Linked DNA regions of Homo sapiens: regions 2 and 3 are each linked to region 1. Evidence: promoter capture Hi-C in 16 types of primary human blood cells and fetal thymus (Javierre and others, 2016). All regions are on one chromosome and are shown on one strand. The core of a region is centred on a gene start or on the middle of the fragment in contact, and the rest is flanking DNA. Distances in the headings are between cores, read along the strand shown.

Region 1 (3,926 bases), core at 1,011-3,510:
AGCACTTTGGGAGGCCGAGGCAAGCGGATCACGAGGTCAGGAAATCGAGTCCATCCTGGCTAACATGGTGAAACCCTGTCTCTACTAAAAATACAAAAAATTAGCTGGGTGTGGTGGCAGGCACATGTAGTCCCAGCTACTCGGGAGGCTAAGGCAGGAGAATGGTGTGAACCTGGGAGGCGGAGCTTGCAGTGAGCCAAGATCGTGCCACTGCACTCCAGCCTGGGCGACAGAGTGAGACTCTGTCTCAAAACAACAAAAAAAGAGATGGAGGTCTCATGCTGTCACCCAGGGTGGAGTGCAGTGGGTGATCATAGCTCACTGCAGCCTCTAACTAATGGGCTCAAGAGATCCTCCCACCTCAGCCTCCTAAGTAGCTGGAATTCCAGGCGAGAGACACCATGCTTGGCTTATTTTTTTATTTTTGTAGAGATAGGGTCTCGTTATGTTGCCCAGACTGGTCTGTAACTCCTGGGCTCAAATGATGCTCCTGCCTCAGGCTCCTGAGTTGCTGGGATAATAGGACTGAGCCACGGATCCTGGCTTAAAGGAGTCTTCTATCTCCACTTTATCTTTGGGTCTTTGACATGCTTATATGACACACTGCCTCTGAGTGTCCAATGCTGTAGTTTTCTTTCTTTCCTTTCTCTCTCTCTCTTTCTTTCTTCTTCTTTTTTTTTGACACAAGGTCTCTCTCTGTTGCCCAGGTAGTGTAGTGTAGTGTAGTGTAGTGTAGTGGCACGATCACGGCTCACTACAGCCTTAACTTCCCGGGCCTCAACGATCCTCCCATCTCAGCCTCCTGAGTAGCTGGGACTACAAGCACATGCTACCACGCCAAGCTAATGTTTTGTATTTGTTGTAAAGAAGAGGTCTTCACTATGTTGCCCAGGCTGGTCTCAAACTCTTGGGCTGGAGAGATCCTCCCGCCTCAGTGTCCCAAAGTGCTGGGATTATAGGCATGAGCCACCGCGCCCGGCCAAACTCCGTACTTTCAACCACAACTAAGAATCCATATTTCTAGCCCAGACCTTATTCTTAGCAACACACCTGTGTACACCAACCGCTTAACTAGTTTGCTCCTCTTGGCATCAAGACATCTCGAACAAAGCCAGAGTGGAAGCCCTCATCTCTTACCCCCACCTTGAGGGGGAGCTCCTGAGATGGAGAACACAAGTCTATCCATCGCAGAAGCCAGGAATGCATGCTCTCCGGGGCCAAGCTGCCTCCCTTTGAAATAATGAAGTCCCATAAACCCATATCACAGGTTAGTAATGCAAAAAGACCGGGTGCGGTAGCTCACGCCTGTAATCCCAGTGACTCAGAGGCTGAGGCAGGAGGATCGCTTGAGCTTGGGAATTGGAGGCTGCAGTGAGCTAGATTACGACACTGCACTCTAGCCTGGGTGACAGAGCAAGCCTCTGGCTCTATAAAAAAAAAAAAGGATCCAATAAGACAAACAGCAACAGCAACATACATTAGCTCTCCCAGGGGACCAACCCTCCTCCTCATACCCGGATTGCATGGCCATGTTAAAATACCGCCACCTGGTGGCGGCATTCTTCGAATGGAAAATAGCATCTGGGGTGCTGAAATGACAAAGGCCTGAGCGTCTTCAGATCAGAGTGTCAGTTCACACTGAATCGAAGTAGGACTGGACCACAGTCAGCCCGCTCTCAGCTTCCTCTTCTTATTCGGGGTCAAAACCAACAGGCGTCTTCCCAAAGCGCCGCACAAGAGTGGGCTCCTTCGCTTTCTCGGAGCGACTCACTTGCTGGTCTCTCAGCCATTGTCAATCAATCAGTCATTGCAGGGGCAGCCATAGACAATTACTCTGGAGCTGGTCCGCCGGTCAATCAGAATCCAATCGAATCCGTCCTTGTGGTCGGTGGATCCACGTGCCTGTACCACCTGCCACCAGCGCCCGGCGCGTTCTGTAGCCGAATCACCGCAAGTGACGGAATACACGCCCCTGGGCTCCGCCCCCTCGTAGTCGCGCCCAATCACAGATCTGACCCTCCCAGGAGTGCCCTCCCCCGGGCCACATCCAGTCACGGGCCCCGTCCTTCCAAAACACTGCCCTATCAGAGGTCAAGCTCTCTAGGCATTCCCTACCCTTTTAATGCCCCGCCCTATGACGGACCCAATCGGAGGGCTCTCCCTACCCGAAACCCCGCTCCTGGAGCGGCTTTTCTCAGGCTTGCGCGGCTCTAGGCCGAAGCGGCGGATGACGCAACCGGGCCGCGCCGCGAGAAGGTCACACGATTCTCCAACATGGCGGCGGCGGCCCTGCGGAGTGGCTGGTGCCGCTGTCCACGGGTGAGCGGCGGTGCGGCGCTGGCAGGGCGAGCTTAGGGGTCTTCTGGGCCTTCGGCCACCAAGGCTTTCTTCTCAGACCCTTGGCCTTCGCGACCCTTGCTTGGGCTCCTTAGAAAGCTTGGGGTTAGATCTTTGGGTAGCAGAGGCCAGGACAGGGGGCACAGAGCGTGGCCTGAGGGCGGGGACCGAGCTTACCGGGCAGGGGGCGGCGATGCGCGGGACCTGGGAGGGAGCTGATCACCCTTCGCCCTCTGATCAGACTCCACGTATACAGGAGAGAGAATGGTAGCCGGGGCGGCGGCGTCCCGTGGAAAAAAGTAGAGGGGAAGGCAAAAAAACGTGAAATTCACAGCTCGCGGTTAAATGCCAAGTTCTCTACCGAGAGCATTTCTTGTCTCGTTTCTTCTAACGTTCATTGTGGATGTGCGAGAGGTGGTTCGCGCCCTAGCAGGCTCTTGGGTCCACAGGGCAGTGGCAGTCAAGACGTGTAAGGCGCACTCAGAAAGTAGTACTTCATATTGCTCGTGCTCTTCGTTTTTTCTTTTTTCTCTTTTTTTTTTTTTTTTGAGACAGAGTTTCGCTCTTGTCGCCCAGTCTGGAGTGCAATGGCGCGATCTCGGCTCACTGCAACTTCTGCCTCCTTCTGCCTCCGGGTTCAAGCGATTCTCCTGCCTCAGCCTCAGGTGGATCACCTGAGGTCAGGAGTTCGAGATCCACTGGCCCACATGGTGAAATCCCATCTCTACTAAAACCCCATCTGTACTAAAAATACAAAAAAATTAGCCGGGCATGGTGGCGCGCTCCTGTAATCCCAACTACTTGGGAGGCTGAGGCAGGAGAATCACTTGAACCCGGCAGGCGGAGATTGCAGTGAGCCGAGATCCTGCCACTTTACTCCAGCCTGGGCAACAGAGGGAGACTCCGTCTCAAAAAAAAAAAAAAAAGTTATCCTCAAGTAAATACAGGAGATAGTAGGCACCTGTGTAAGTTTGGGATGTTGCATAGGGTTCTCAGAGGTAGGAGGCAGAGAACAGAGAGAAAAACGGCCCAGGAAATGTGGAAATGGTGGAGAAGTTGTACCTGGTCTTTTGACATCAACACGCCAGGTTCTGTGCTGGGTGACAGGGTGCCGAGCTGAACAGGACCTGCACAGAGCTTTTTTTTTTTCCCCCAATTTTTTATGGAGGCAGGGTCTAGCTATGTTGCCCAGGCTGGTCTCAAACTCCTGAGCTCAAACGATCCTTCCGCCTCAGCCTCCCAAAGTATCGGGATTACAGGCATGAGCCACCAGCTCAGTGCCTGCACAGAACTTAAGGCAAGATCTCGGCTCACTGCACCCTCCACCTCCCGGGTTTAAGCAATACTACAGGTGTGTGGGACTACAGGTGTGTGCCACCACGCCCGGCTAATTTTTGTATTTTTGGTAGAGACGGGATTTCACCATGTTGGCCAGGCTGATCTCGAACTCCTGACCGGGTGATCCTCCCACCTCAGCCTCCCAACGTGTTGGGATTACTGGCGTGAGCCACCGCGCCCAGCCAGCAAGTGCCTTTTACATGAGATCAGCCCAGTCTTTGCCCAGAGCGACTCCCCTAAATTACTCTGTT
Region 2 (3,926 bases), core at 926-3,425, 500 kb before region 1:
TTTTATTCTACAATTTTCAGGTTCCAACAGTCCACATGTATTTGTAAAATGACTCAGTCACAAAATGACTATTTGAAAATGGACAGGGGAAAAGGGAAAATTTGTAATCTATTAATTTACCCTATCATCTAGCAAGGTTCTACCAGCACTCCTTCCTGCATACGGTAAATAAATTTATCTTAAAGCCCTCCAAATACCACCCTCAGAAATCCTACCAGCTTCCGTAGATAGACGCTGAAAAAGTCAAAATTAACACATTCCTTCCCAGAGTTTTCAATAGTAAAATGCTGGGAATAGAGGAAGTTTTTCTCATTTCTAAGGGCCAGTAACCATGGTATTTTATTTCTCCCTACTTAAGGAGGGAAAGAATCTGGAATTTTCTCCGGATTTATTATCTACCAATATAGCTAGCACTTAGGGAACGTTCTTAACCTAAGCGCTCAACTAGGCAGGGCGCAGTAGCTCATGCCTGTAACTTCAGCACTTTGGAAGGCCTAGGCAGGAGGATGGCTTGAACCCAGGAGTTTCAGACCAGCCTGGGCAACACCCGGAGACCTCCTCTCTTCAAAAAATTAGCCGGGCATGGTGGTGCCGCGCCTGTGATCCCAGCTACTCAGGAGGCTGAGATGGAAGGATCGATTGAGCCCAGGAGTTCGAGGCTGCAGTGATCTGTGATCGTGCCACTGCATCCCAGCTTGGGTAACAGAGGGAGACCCTGTCTCAAAGAAAAAAATTAAATATATAAGTGCTCAACCGCATTCACTTTTAATCTCCATAAACTAAGCTTCACACATTACAATATGAGGAAGGCAAAGTCACAGACAGAAAGGAAAGAAAACGGAGGGAGTTAGTATTTAATAGCTACACTTTCTGTTTCCGATGATGAAAAAGTTCTGGACATGAAGCAGTGACGGTTACAGCACACTGAGTCAGTATACTCAATGCCACTGAATTATACGCTTAAAAAATGGTTAAAATGGCAAAGTCTACGTTATGTCTATTTTACCACAATGAAATAAATGTCTGGGAAATTCAATGTGTACCCAGGCTTCCCCTTCCTTCCCGGCCGCTGATCTTGGAGCCAAAACCTCTCTGTCTCTCTTAAGTGTCTGTAATCAGAATGAATGAGTTTCACCGGGGCACAAGTCGATGCTTCCTCCTTTAAAGAAACTTTTAAAAGCCAAGGAGTCAAAGAGCCCCAAGCAGGACTCGAAAAGCTGATGAAGTCTGGAAGTAAATGAACCCGCCTCCTGACAGAACAGCTTCCCCGAAACACGGGAAAAAGGGGATTCCTCCCCCGACTTCGTATCTGTCTGCTTCCGAGGGTGAACGCTAAGCAGCAGATCCCATCTCTCCACTAATACCTGCGGCGCACCCGGGGAGGAGGAGCGGGAAACGGCGAGGGACTTGAGCCAGGGCCAGAGCGTGGGGCGAGGGGCGGTTCCGAGGGAGGCACTTCCCGCGGAGCGCGGTCGGCGCGCGGGGACTAAGGGGCGGGGCAGGAGGGGAGCCCCCCGACCCGGCTTCGCGGCCCTTCCTGACGCTTCCCTCGCTCGGTTACCGTTGACTCGGGCTGACTGCGCGCGAGGCCTCCCGGGCGCGCACCCTCTCTCCTCCCCCCACGTTACGGATCAGAAAACAGACCCCGGGAGGAGAGGGGACGGGGGGCTGAAACCCGGCCCCCGAGGTCACCCTCCCGGGGAGCGGTCGGGTAGGCCTCGGAGGCTCTCCGGTCCGGGCCCGCGCCATCAACCCCCATGCGCAGCAGCTGGGCCTGAGGCCTCGACTACGGGGTTGGCCCCGGCCTGGAGGGACTGAGGGTGGCGAGGCTCGAGGCCCGGTGTAGGGGACGATTCTGGAGGCTCCCCCGGCTCCCCGCTCACGGCCCTAGACGCCGCTACCCTGAGCAGGCGGTACGGGAACAGCCGGGGCCGAGGCCGCGCCGGGGCTAGGCCGCCAACAGACCTAACGGAGCCGCCGCCCGCGTCGGCCGCGGAGAGGAACCCTTACCCGTGGCAAAGGACCGTGGGATACTCACCCCTTAGGGCCCGGAGCCCCGTTGCCGCTCGGCACGCCGGGCGCGCCGCTCTCTTCCTCCATTTTGATCTCCGTCGCCGCCACCTCCGCCGCCGCTTCGACCCCTGCCGCCATTTTCTCCGCGTCTGGGCTTTGTGTGAGCGAACGGGCTGCACCGCGCTGCGCCTGCGCGCCCACGTGACCCGACGCAACCAGTAACACCTGCGCCCGCCGCTCCCGGCTGCCTCCTTGGCCCCACTCGCCCCGGGCCACGCCCCCGCCGCGCGCAGGCGCAGACCGGCAGCTGTTGATCGCTTCTCTCTCGAGATACACTCGCGTTAGGCACCGACTGGCTGTTCCCGGCGCGCGTCCTCTGAGTCCGATAGAGGAGGCATCTCCCCACCCCACCCCACACAAACACCTAGACCTAGTCACTCTCAGCTTTCTGTAACCAGAGCTGGAGCAGAGGGGAAGCAATGATCCTGTCTAGAGATTCCTGGAAGTTTTAGATGAAGCTTGTTCAACCCGCGGTCCGGCACACGATTCGTAAACTTTCTTAAAACATTGTGTCTTTTTGTGTGATTTTTTTCTTTTTGTAACGCAATTGCGCGGTTCTCCAGCGCGAACTTTGTAGGCAACAACGGAACGGCATGGAATAATATCAGAGTATTATCCGTAATTCGCATTATAATTGCAAACAGTTCGTCCAGAAGAAACGGAAAACTGTTAAAATTCACTAATAATGGGGCCAGGCGCGATGGCTCACTCCTGTAATCCCAGCACTTTGGGTATGGGAGGCCGAGGCGGCGGATCACCTGAGGTCAGGAGTTCGAGACCAGACTGGCCAACATGGTGAAACCGCGTCTCTACTAAAAATAAAAAAATTAGCTGGACGTGGTGGCGGGCGCCTGTAATCCCAGCTACTCGGGAGGCTGAAGCAGGAGAATCGCTTGAACCCAGGAGCCGGAGGTTGCAGTGAGCCGAGATCACGCCACTGCACCGCAGCCTGGGAGATAGACTGAGACTCCATCTCAAAAAACAAAAAGATAAGTATTGAGTACTGGGCTTAATACCTGGGTGATGAAATAATCTGTACAACAAACCTCCATGACAAGTGTTTACCTATTTAACAAACCTTCACATTTACCCCCAAACCTAAAAGTTAAAAACAAAATTAAAAAAAAAATTAATGGCTGGGCGCGGCAGCTCACGCCTGTAATCCTACCACTTTGAGAGGCCAAGGCGGGTGGATCACGAGGTCAAGAGATCAGACCATCCTGGCCAACATGATGAAACCCTGTCTCTACTAAAAATACAAAAATTAGCCGGGTGTGGTGGCAGGCGCCCATAATCCCAGCTACTGGGGAGCCTGAGGCAGGAGAATCGCTTCAACCCAGGAGGAGGAGGTTGCAGTGAGCCAAGATCGGGCCACTGCACTCCAGCCTGGTCACAGAGTGAGACCCCATCTCAAAAAAATTAAAAATAATAATAAAGAGCGAGAGGACTCTTGCAATGTTGCATAAAGTGAACTGTGACAGAATTCAGGGTGTATTCTGTACTAGGCATAATGCTGTATGGTCTTATTTTTGTGTGCATTCGTGGCATCAGTTTTATGGTGCTGTGCAGCCTCCAATGTGCCATTTTCCAAGTGCAGACAGTCGAATTGGCACCATCAGATGTTACGTGTGCTTGTGGCAACTTGGGCAGTAAGATGCAGCGATTATCTTTTTGAGACGGAGTTTCGCTCTTGTTGCCCAGACTGGAGTGCAATGGCGCCATCTCGGCTCGCTGCAACCTCCGCCTCCTGGGTTCAAGCGATTCTCCTGTCTCAGCCTCCCGAGTAGCTGGGATTACAGGTGCATGCCACCACGCCCGGCTAACTTTTGTATTTTTAGTAGAGACAAGGTTTC
Region 3 (3,926 bases), core at 865-3,364, 300 kb before region 1:
ACCCGGGAGGCGGAGGCTGCAGTGAGCCAAGATTGTGCCACTGCACTCCAGCCTGGGTGAGAGAGCGAGACTTCATCTCAAAAATAAATAAAATAAATAAAAATAAAAATACCATAACCCCAGTGTTTAGGAGGCTGAGGCAGGAGGATTGCTTGAACCCAGGGGTTTGAGACCAGCCTGGACAACATAGCGAAACTGTCTCTACAAAAAATACAAAAATTAGCCGGGCAAGGTGGCATGTGGCCATAATCCTAGCTACTCGTGAGGCAGAGGCAGGAGGATTGCTTAAGCCCAAGAGTTTGGGGCTGCAATGAGCTGTGATCATGCCACCACACTTCAGCCTAAATGACAGAGTGATACCTGTCTCCAAAAACAGAGTAAATCAATAAAAAATAAAAATATATAAATAAAATAAAAAATAGACCCAGGTGCAGTGGCTCATGCCTGTAATTCCAGCACGTTGGGAGACTGAGGCAGGAGAATTGCTTGAAGCCAAGAGTGTTTTTTTTTTTTTTTTTTTTTTTTGAGATGGAGTCTCGCTCGGTCGCCCAGCCTGGAGTGCAGTGGCACGATCTCAGCTCACTGCAAGCTCAGCCTCCCGAGTAGCTGGGACTACAGGTGCCCGCCACTACGCCCGGCTAATTTTTTGTATTTTTAGTAGAGACAGGGTTTCACCATGTTAGCCAGGATGGTCTAGATCTCCTGACCTCGTGATCCACCTGTCTTGGCCTCCGAAAGTGCTGGGATTACAGGTGAGAGCCACCGCGCCTGGCCAAAGCCAAGAGTTCAAGACCAGCCTAGGGGGCAGCCGGGGGTGGTGGCTCACCCCTGTAATCCCAGCACTTTGGGAGGCCAAGGTGGGCAAACTGCTTTCCAAGGCAGGACTGCACCATCTTACACTCCCAGCAGGAGAATGTGAGGGTTCCGTTGCCCTTGGTTCTATTTTGAATAATGCAGGGATTCTCAGGTGTTGGTTGCCATGCAGGGCGTAGCATTTTGGAGGCCAGAAGAGGGTGCTCTGGCATGTCCAGTTGAGATAAGGTAGAGATAAGGGGATTCCAGAGACATTTTAGAGGTGGGGCCCCCCAAGAGCCAAATGCTTTCCAAAGTGGAGCCAGAAAAGAGAAGGGTTGGGAGAGGAAATTGGCAAGATATTGGTCAAAGGATATGACATTTCAGTTAGCAGCAGTAGTAAGTCCAAGAGATCTGTACATCATGATGATTTTAGTTAATAATATAGTATATACTGGAAAATTGCTAAGAGACTACATTTTCTGCAGGGAGGCAATCTCTCACTCTGTCTTCCAGGCTGGAATGCAGCGGTGCAATCATAGCTCACTGCAGCCTCGATCTCCTGGGCTCAAGCCATCTTCCTGCCTCAGCCTCCCGAGTAGCTGGGACTACAGGCTCCAGCCACCACACCCAGCCATTTCCTGCCTTTTCTGGCTTTAGAGGCTGCCTGCACCCTCCAGCTCCTGGTCCCTTCCTCCATCTTCAGAGCCAGCAGTGGCTAGTTGGGTCTTTCTCCCACCTTGTCATTCTGACAGTGTCTCTCCTGCCTCCGTCTTCTTCATTTTAAGACCCTTGTGATGACACTGGGTTCACCCAGATGATCTCCCATCTCAAGCTCAGCTGATTAACAACCTTAATTCCATCTTCAGCCTCACCCCACTTGGCCACTGAAGCTGTCAGCCTTCCAGTCTGAAGAACTGGATGAACCAGAATGGATGAGCTGATTTCAGGACAGGAGTCAGGCTAAGTGTCAGACAACACAAATTGTGGGTGTGGGGGAGGGCAGCTAAAATGTTCCCGTGGGCGTGTGGAGGAGGCAGGAGCTACTCAGGTTTGGGGCACAGGCTTGGGGTGGGTGGGGCCTGGGTAGGACTTGTCAGTGAGTGGCTGCTGTTGAAATCCATGAAGATGGATGGAATCCTCTATCTATCAGCAAGGGGTCAACAAGACCCTGTTTTGGGGGAAAAAAAAAAAAAAGGAAGAGACTGCACATGAAGGGGCAGGCTAAGTACCATGCTATGGGGCAACTGACATTTAGGCATCAGTGAAGTATTAGAAGCTGTTGCTAGCATTGGATACTCTGGTTGGGGAGGGGCACTAGAAGTCAGTGACCCAACAAGCAGTCAAGGGTGTGGGATAGCAGCTAGTCTAGACCTACAACGAGGCCCAGGCATCCCAGACAGAGTAGACACATGAACAGCTGGGTGGATGTGGGGACTTCAGCCCAGGTGGTTGATTTCTCAAGAAAAAGAAATCATCTTCACTAGCAGACAAGGTTGGCTTGATCCCGTGTGCCCGTGGGGGCTCAAGGACACATGGCCAGCTTGGCACTCTTGGTCCCAACTGTACTCAGCTCTCACAGCCAAAGCCATGACCACTGCAGGGTATCTGCAATCCCCTATTTTTTTTTTTTTTTTTTTTTTTTTTTTTAGAGACAGGGTCTCACTTTGTCACCCAGACTGGAGTGCACTGGCCTGATCATAGCTCACTGCAGCCTCAAACTCCTGGGTTCAAGCCATCCTCCCACCTCAGCCTTCTGAGTCACTGGTGCAGCTTTCTCAGAGACCCTGCTACCTTTCTGACAGACCCCAAGGTGCAGATGGAAGGGGACTAGGTGTCCTAGGAAGGCCCAGGCATCCAGACCCCCAGCTCCATGTTTTCCCCTCACCCAAGGGTCTTGGATGCATCCTTGCACACCTTGGTACATTCAAGTCATGATGAGTGTAGGGGATGAGGGAGAACCACAGGAGCAATGGCTTCTCACAATCTCAAGCCTTGCCTCTGCTGATGTGCCCAGCTTCAATGCCCACCAGTTTACTGACTGATACTCTGCTCCCACCAGACCATATCGTTTCACACATCCTAGCCTTTACAAATACTGGCCTCTGCCTAGAATGCTCATTTAGTATTTGGGTGCTGAAGACACAAAATGGTGGGGAAAACAAGCAACATCTCTGCCCTGAAGAGCTTAAACGCTTTCTTTCTCTGTTTGGCAAACTCCTATGCATCCTTCAAAACCCAGCTCAGTTGTCACCTCCTCCTGAAAGCAGCCCAATTGCCCTGCTTTGGATCCTGTTAAAGCACCCTCCCGCAACCCTGTCTTACTGTGATGTCAGGAGCTGGCCAGTGTTTTTGCAGGGAGGGTTGGAGAAGGAAGCATAACCAGTTCTAAACTCTCCTCTCCTCTGCTGAATCATGCCCATTGCTTCCTGAGTGGCACAGAAAGGGGAACAGATGCACTTTCTAAACCAGGGAGCTCTCCAAGGAGGCTTCAGACTGATATGCCCTGATTGCAGAGGTCTGGCCCCAGAGGTCCTACTCTCTCACTAACCTCACCAACCTGTCTCTGTCTCGTCCCTTCCCTCTTCTCCCTCTTAAAGCATAAATAAAAGATGCTGTGGTTTGAGAAAAGAACAGGGTCTGGAGCCCAGCAGACTGGCTGGAGTCCTAGCTGCAATGCTTCAAAGCCCTGGGAGCCTCAATTTCGTCACCTGTTGGTGGGACAGGTGCCCTCCCTGAAGGGTGGTTAAGCAGCTCAGAGACCTTGCACCTGGGGCATTGAGGCAGAGTCTGGCATATGGGAGGGGCTCAGGCATGGCTATAACCAGGCACCTCAGGCCAGCAAGGCTCAACTTCTCCTGAGGGAAGGGAGGAAATGAGGCTGAGGGATGTGTTCCTCAATTTCTAGCTTTTCTCTTTTGGATCCAGTTCTTCTGTTTGTTCCCTGTCATCCTCTGTCTTCCTGGGCCTCAGTTGTCCCATCTGAAAAATGGGTACAGCTAGATTCCCTCCTTGTTCTACCAGGCTATTGTGAGGCTCAGGGCAGGCGGGCAGTTTATAAACACTCCATGCTGATATCACAACGGATCTGATTCCTGATTCCTGCCTCACCCGTTTACCAGGCATGGAACGTG

What was found. The method cuts DNA at HindIII sites, captures the fragments that hold promoters and counts their contacts. A CHiCAGO score of 5 or more calls a contact.
Region 2: a contact is called between the fragment with the promoter of HNRNPM here and the fragment with the promoter of TIMM44 in region 1, in 5 of 17 cell types (naive CD4 T cells, fetal thymus, non-activated CD4 T cells and 2 more). The highest score is 6.8, in naive CD4 T cells.
Region 3: a fragment that was not itself captured here is called in contact with the fragment with the promoter of TIMM44 in region 1 in 2 of 17 cell types (endothelial precursors and erythroblasts); the score reaches 6.2 in endothelial precursors.

The regions. Positions count from the first base shown.
Region 1 is chr19:7,942,000-7,945,925 of GRCh38, reverse strand. It overlaps TIMM44 (translocase of inner mitochondrial membrane 44), which reads left to right and starts at 2,260. Exons shown (of 13, transcript NM_006351.4): 1 at 2,260-2,319. The coding sequence starts at 2,275. RefSeq lists enhancers at 1,066-1,608, 1,609-2,152, 2,157-2,526, 2,153-2,695, 2,696-3,239 and a silencer at 2,057-2,126. The HindIII fragment of the contact is 5,893 bases long and covers 1-2,438 here.
Region 2 is chr19:8,443,224-8,447,149 of GRCh38, reverse strand. It overlaps HNRNPM (heterogeneous nuclear ribonucleoprotein M), which reads right to left and starts at 2,175. Exons shown (of 16, transcript NM_005968.5): 1 at 2,039-2,175. The coding sequence starts at 2,151. RefSeq lists silencers at 1,667-1,896, 2,137-2,416. The HindIII fragment of the contact is 1,747 bases long and covers 787-2,533 here.
Region 3 is chr19:8,241,711-8,245,636 of GRCh38, reverse strand. All of the region lies in intron 2 of CERS4 (ceramide synthase 4), which reads right to left. Among named protein-coding and RNA genes, the nearest start is that of CERS4, 34 kb to the right of the region's middle. The HindIII fragment of the contact is 4,736 bases long and covers 1-3,926 here.